Linked DNA regions of Homo sapiens: region 1 is linked to region 2. Evidence: promoter capture Hi-C in human tissues and cell types (Jung and others, 2019). All regions are on one chromosome and are shown on one strand. The core of a region is centred on a gene start or on the middle of the fragment in contact, and the rest is flanking DNA. Distances in the headings are between cores, read along the strand shown. Region 1 overlaps RXRA (retinoid X receptor alpha). Region 2 holds the start of MRPS2 (mitochondrial ribosomal protein S2).

Region 1 (3,326 bases), core at 260-2,759, 1.1 Mb after region 2:
AGGTCTGGCTGGATGACTTGACAATTTTGGTGACATCGGGGGAGGGACTTCCCTGCAAACCGCCCCGACACAGATTTGTTAATAAGACGAGCACAAAAACAAAAGGAAAGGAGGAACTGCTCCAAGAGCCTGGGGGCCATCCGGCGGCCCTGCGGGGTGCCACAGAGTTGGCCTCGGGAGGAAGCTGGCCCGGGACCACCCCTGGCATCCAACAGCTCAGAAGATGCCCCCGCTCCACCTCTCCAACCTAAGCAGTGCCACCTGAGGGTCTCCTTGACCATCCCCTCACCGGACAGCCAACGCCAGCCAGAACATGCCGCCCAGGACCCATGTGTGCCCACGCTCTGGGCCGCACGTGTGCCCACGCGCTGGGCCCCGCCCCCACTCCTGCCTTGGCCTTGCCATGCTTCTGTCCAGGCCACTCACTCCCTGTTGTCCATCTCGGGTGTCCACGCACAAGCCCGGGCCCCACTGTTTGTCCAACACCTGCCCGCGCCCCCACCCGACGCCGTGGCCTACCTTCCCGCTTCATGCCCATGGCCAGGCACTTCTGGTAGCGGCAGTACTGGCACCGGTTCCGCTGCCGCTTGTCAATCAGGCAGTCCTTGTTGTCGCGGCAGGTGTAGGTCAGGTCCTTGCGCACCGTCCGCTTGAAGAAGCCCTTGCACCCCTCGCAGCTGTACACTCCATAGTGCTTGCCTGCGGGACAGGGCAGAGCAGGGCTGGGGAGCACCCACCGCCCCGGCAGGGAGCCCACCCCCCATCCAACGCCGCCACTACCAGCTGGCGGGCCAGGCCTCAGAAAGGGACCTGCTGGTCTCCAGACCCCTGCCTGGGCTCAGACTGGGCCCCAGCCTCACTCTCTCTGCTCCTCCGAGGACAGCTTAGGAGTGGGGCAGGGACAAATCCCAGCCCACCAGGGACCAGGGCCCCAGGCAAGTCACCTGCTCTGTGTCTGCACTGTGCAGCCCGTTCTTCCCTCTCAGGCCGTTGGGGGTCAGTGGCACAACACGGGCCCCTTGCCCAGACCCAGCCAAGGGAGGAGGCGCAGCACTGGCTGCCCCCATGCTGACCTTGCCATCAGCAGCCACCTCCTCTCCGGAAGCCTCAGGCTGCCCTGTGCCCCACCCCACCCAACACTCACTGTCCCACAGACGTGAGAACCCTGGAATGGCCTCGCGGAGCCCTGGGAGTGGGGCATGGCCCAGGCACCTGCCTCCCTGCACCCTGGCCTTGGGTCCTGCTTGGCCCACAGGAGGGTGATTTGGGGAGGCCTCCAGACCCTGCAATGGCCTGACAACCCTGTCCCACCAGCCCCTGGCCCCCACAGCAGCGGTACCTGAGGAGCGGTCCCCGCAGATGGCGCAGATGTGCTTGGTGAAGGAAGCCATGTTTCCTGAGGGGTGGGCGGGGACCTTGAGGACGCCATTGAGGCCCAGGGGGGGCTTGATGTCCTCGCTGCTGCTGACGGGGTTCATAGGTGAGCTGAGCTGGGGGGGGCAACCACAGCAGTCAGCGGGGTGTACACCAGGTTTGTCCCTATGTCCCCCACGGCCCTGCAGCAAGGATGGCGCAGCTGTACCCCCAACTTCACACACAGACACCGAGGCTAGAGAGGGCCGTGCCCCCCACCCGCCACGCTGCTCCGGAGCAGCGGGGCCACTGTGCTTGCTCAGCAAGGCCAGCAGAGGCTGTGGCAACCTCAGGACTCGCCCGCAGCAGACCCCAGGCCTCTGTGGAAAAGGACCTTCAACACCCCCCCCAACACATGGGCGGTCCCTGCTTGCAACCCCCTGCCCGCTGCCCACCTAAATGAGAGCTGCCTCTCATTACTGAGCCCCTGGCAGTGCCCAGCCCCGCTGGGTGCCCCCGGACACTCCATGAGGCAGGCACTCTGGGGGGTCCCAACCCACACATGAGGACGCCGAAGCCCAGTTCCCAGGACGGAGGAGGGCTGGGGACCCCCCCAAGAACCACACATACACCCCACAACACCGCAGGGCAGGGGCCCTGGTCACGTGACCCAGGAGAGGGGAGTGGACACCCCCGGGCATCGGGTGGCACGACACCACTGGCCTCTCTGCACACCCCTCCGCCCCACCCGCCGGCCCGCACGCTGCCGCCCGGGCAAGCGTGGGAAACTCACCCGGTCACCCTGGCAACAGCTGCAGCGTGCAGTGACACAGCAGTTTTGGTTCCGCTGCCTCCACCCAGCTCTGCAGTCAGCGCCGAGGACCCACAGGCGCTTCCCGCTGCAGCCTGCCAGCCAGCCTGGCTGCGCAGGGCGGTAAGCGCTTGGCCAGGCAGCCCCCAGCCTCCACTTCTGCAAACCCCTGCCGCCGCTTGTGCGCAGGAAGCTCCCCTCCTTCCTTCCTCAGGCCTCCAAATCCCATCCCCCCTTCTCACGGGACAGGAAGAGTTTGAGGCTCAATGCAAGCAAAGCAGAAACCACCGCAAAGCCTCCTTTCACATGGACCTCGGTGCCTGGAATGAGTCTTCCAGCCCCAGCTTGTTCTGGCTTCTAGGTTCTTCCTCGATCTGCCCAGGTGGGCTGTGAGGCTTTACAAGGATGCTTGGTCCCTGCAGGACTCAGGTGGGCTGCGAGAGGCCAGGAGGTCCCCCGTGACAACTCAGCACAGTGGGGGTGCCATGAAGCTCCCACTGGAGAAGCGGGTGGCCACTGTGTGACTCACCAAATGCCCAGTGTTCATGTCCACAGGCAGCAGGTGCGCTTCTCAGAGAAGGGAGGGAACTGAAGGGGCAAGAGAAAGCCCCAGACGTCTGCAGAGGGGTGCGGTGCCTGGGCTTTGCACCCACACTTGACACTCCCTGCATGGGAAACCCTGGGTGTCCCAGATGCAGAGGCTGCGGCTCAGGGAGGTCAGGGGCTGGCCAAGGTCACACATGATCCCCCACGCTGCAGAAGGCGAAAGTGAAGCCCCTGGAGGGACAGAGCTCGTCCAAACTAAGTGCCCAGCTGGCCCTGCCCCGTGCTGGGCTCCGGGAGGCACCAGGGGACAAGGCCCTGCCCAGCCCTCCAGGGCTCGCTGGTCTAGTGGCTGTCTCGCTTGGAGGCACTGGAGGCCCCAGAGGCGGATCCCTGGCTCCGGATTCTGCCTGCCTCCTACGTTCTCGTGTGACATTCGGAAAATGATTTAATCACTGTGAGCCTGAGTTTCCTCGTCGGCAAAACTGGAACCATGTTAGTGCCTACTTCTTTTCTCTTTTTTTTTTTTTTTTTTTTCCGAAACAGGGTCTCACTCTGTTGCCCAGGCTGGAGGACAGTGGCACAATCACAGTCACTGCAGCCTCAAACTTCCAGGCCC
Region 2 (3,285 bases), core at 553-3,052:
TGCCTCATGTCCACCTGCTGCTCCAGCTCTTCCGCTACTGCGATTTAAGCCCCGCCACCTTCACCCTGAACGCCCACACCAACCTCCTCCCTGGCCTCCCACCTGCCCCTCCCATCCCCTCCCCCCACAGCAGTCAAAATGACCATGTGAGAATACAGGACCAGTCATTCCTCCTCCCCGCAGCCCAGAAGGCCCAGCCCGATCCGGGGGGACCAACCTTACAGGTTCTGCCCTCAGCCTTTCCATTTCTGAACCCGTGGAGTCCTGCAACCCCCAGCAGGCCTGCCCTATCAAGGGCTGTGAGCGCCACACCAAGGCACACAAGAGCGTCCGCCAAGCTGAGGAATAAACTCCTGCTTCTCTGTGGGGCTCTGTATTCCCATGTGGAGGAGGATGGGGCTGTAATCACCTAAAACTGACATAGGCCAGTTCAAAAGTGGCCCTAGAACCAGAGCAGGTCCCAGGTTCCTCCTGGGAACCGCCCCGGGCTCAGATGGGGGTGTCACCTACCTGTGCCGACAGCCAGCTTTGTGTCCCAGATGGACTCGGGCATCGAAGAGGCTTCTCACGGAAAACAGTTCCTTGACATTGAAGAAGTCAGAGTGCTTGAGGGGCTCATTCAAAATCTTGTCGTTGAAATCTACGGCAGGGAGGAGGAGCGACGCTGCGTCTCCCACCGGTGGCAGCAGAGACAGGCAGAGCGCAGTTCCCGCCCACCCCTGCTCCCAAGTGCCTTCTGTGACACCGAGGTGGGGAGCCGGGAGCCCAGCAGCCCCAGGAAAGACCTGGAAGCACAGGGACCTTTTCAGGAAACAGAGGGCTGGAGCCAGGTTCTGATCCCGACCTTGCTCCTGGGTAAGCCTGGTCGAACCTGGTCAACCCCGTCCCTTGGTCTTACTTGGAAGACAGAGGAGAAAAAGAGAGGGGCCCAGCGGGTTGCTCAGGTCTTTCTGGCACCTCCCCGCCTTGTGGTCTCAGGTGGCCAGCCAGAAAGTCCCCATCAGGAGTCCAGCAAGGTGGGCAGACTCCAAGCCCAGTGCCCCCAGGTCACTTGGGCCCGCCTGGGCGAGCTCGGGGCTCCGGGCCTCGGTGGTCCAGTGACACCCCCCTAGGGAGCGAAGCCTGTGCTAACCACTGGCCCGCCCGCTCCCTCTCACCCTATCCATGGTGAGGCGGTGGCCTCAGCCCGCTGTGCTACGTCAGGCAGGACCGAGCGGCGGCGAGCACGGGAGTGGGAGGAGCCCAGCGGAGCGCGCAGTTTCGACCGCGTGCAGCGCCCAGGCCCCTCTAGGGTTCGCATCCCCCGCGGCTGCCGGCCTCTCCTCGTTCCCACCCAACTCGGCTGGGCGCCCAGTGTTACCGGTGCTGTCCTCCGACTCGCGGATCATAAGGGCCGTCGCGCTTCCAAGCGTCCTGCGGCTCGGCCGAGCAGGCCGGGGGGTCGCCTTCCCGAGAAAGCCCAACCAGCGCGACGGGGCCCGGGCACCTGGGGGGAAGTAGATAGAGGTCCTGGCGCCGAGTCCCGAATGCACCACGCCCGCTCCCCACCGCATCCCCAACGGGCCCCTCCGCGTCCCTAACGGGTCCCCTCCGCGTCCCCGCGCCCTCCCCGAGTCCCCTCCGCGCTCGCCCCGGGTCCCCTCCACGTCCCCGCCGCTCCATCGGGTCCCCGCGCCCCTCCGCATCCTCCTCGCATGCTCCTCCCCAGGGTCCCGCAAGCGCGCGCTCACCCGCGCCGAGTATTCGGGGCAGCGCGGCCGAGGATGTCGCCATGGCTGGGACGCGGGGCAGAGCGAGGTCTCCCTCCAGGCCAGGCCGAGCGGCCTCCCCTTCCGTCGCCATCCGCGCGGGGCCGCAGTGCCGCCTACAGGCCCGGAGGAGCCACAGCGCTGTCCCCAGGCGGCTGGGACCTCCCTGCGGGGGCGGGGCACGCGAGGGGTCAGGGCCCGGGGTCCTGGGCTTGAGAGTCTCGGGCGGGGAGTGGAGCCACGGTCCTCGCCCTGCAGCTCGCCCCGCCCTGCTAATGGGACCGGCCAGCCCGGGAGGCCCCTGACCCTTGGGGAAGCCCGCTGGGCGATGGGGACCCTCGCCTCCCGCCAAGTGAGCTGTGAACCACGTCCTGCGCAACCTCTCGCTCTCCAAAACTGTTTGTAATATTTAAACGATATTTGGCTTAGGAGAATTTCATAAAGTTAGCCAGATCTCGGGTCTCAATTTAGACTCGGGGTGCTGGGGGGCATAGCATCCCTGGAGTACATTGGACAGCAAAAGTCCAATCGTTGCCTGCCGAGTGGACCTGCAGTGCTTAAACCCCGTCACCCGGCTGGCGGGGTCCCAGGCCCTGGGGTTTCTTTCGCCCGGGAGTCCACGCCCTGATGCTGGGGTGGCCCGGTCCCCCCGCGGGTGGCTGGGGGCCTGGGGCTGCCTCACACGACGGTCCCAGCAGGGAATCTCTCGCCGTCCCGACCTTCCCGGCCCTTGGGGAGTCGCCCGGCAGGTTCCGGACCCACCCGCAGAGGAACCCGGCCCACGCGCGGCGCCTTTAAGGCCCCTCCGCTCGCTCCCCAGTCACGTGACCTGGCCGTCGCTTGGCAACAGGACGCCGCCGAGTCCCGCTTCTCCTCCAGGCACAATGGCTGAGGAATGCCCCAGAGCGTGCGCGGAGCCTGTGGCGCCCAAGGCCACGGCCCCGCCGGAGAGGACCAGCGACTACTACCGCGTGAGCGCGGACCTGCCGGGCAGGTTCAACAACCCGGGGTGGTTCCGGGGCTACAGGTGAGGAAGCTGGGGCCCGCCTGGTCCTGGCGTCCACTGCTCGATAGCCCCGTGTGTGAGAGACCCCGCAAGACCCCCAAGGTCCTAGCTACAGAAATCAAGAAGATCGAGTGGTCATCCGGGGCCCGCGCTGTCATCGCCCGCCAGTGAGCGGCGACCGTGCTCCCTAGAGCCTCATACAAGGAAGTGGGGATAAGGGCAGTGGGGGGCAGGGCCGTGGGGGGAGAAAGCCCAGTTGTGGTCTCAGCTCCACTGATTTGTGTCGGGTGAGTCTCCTCTCCTCTCTACCCTGAAACTCCGCTGCGGGGCGTGAGCACAGCAGCACCTCCACTGTCTTGCTGTAGACTCAGCCAGCTCTGAGCTGCCACAGGGCATTGCAGGCTAAGAAGTAGTAAGAAACTCAATTCCTGTAGGCAGGTGCAAACATCTTGCCGTGCTCATCACACATTTGGTCCCTCAACAGTCCTCTAGGGCAGGGTCTGTTAGTATCCTCATTCTCGCATTGAGATG

The links. The method cuts DNA at HindIII sites, captures the fragments that hold promoters and counts their contacts. A contact is called where the count stands out against the background at its distance.
Region 1: a contact is called between a fragment that was not itself captured here and the fragment with the promoter of MRPS2 in region 2, in 1 of the 25 tissues and cell types used here (dorsolateral prefrontal cortex).

Annotation. Positions count from the first base shown.
Region 1 is chr9:134,406,313-134,409,638 of GRCh38, reverse strand. It overlaps RXRA (retinoid X receptor alpha), which reads right to left. Exons shown (of 10, transcript NM_002957.6): 3 at 1,340-1,490; 4 at 520-699. Among named protein-coding and RNA genes, the nearest start is that of MIR4669, 29 kb to the right of the region's middle. RefSeq lists enhancers at 146-957, 958-1,770, 1,771-2,583, 2,385-2,854. The HindIII fragment of the contact is 8,028 bases long and covers 1-3,326 here.
Region 2 is chr9:135,499,199-135,502,483 of GRCh38, reverse strand. MRPS2 (mitochondrial ribosomal protein S2) reads right to left here and starts at 1,802. Exons shown (of 4, transcript NM_016034.5): 1 at 1,731-1,802; 2 at 1,361-1,486; 3 at 511-640. The coding sequence starts at 1,773. It overlaps PIERCE1 (piercer of microtubule wall 1), which reads left to right and starts at 2,615. Exons shown (of 3, transcript NM_001048265.2): 1 at 2,615-2,775. The coding sequence starts at 2,633. RefSeq lists an enhancer at 953-1,577 and silencers at 1,533-1,692, 1,903-2,072, 2,343-2,512. The HindIII fragment of the contact is 18,925 bases long and covers 1-3,285 here.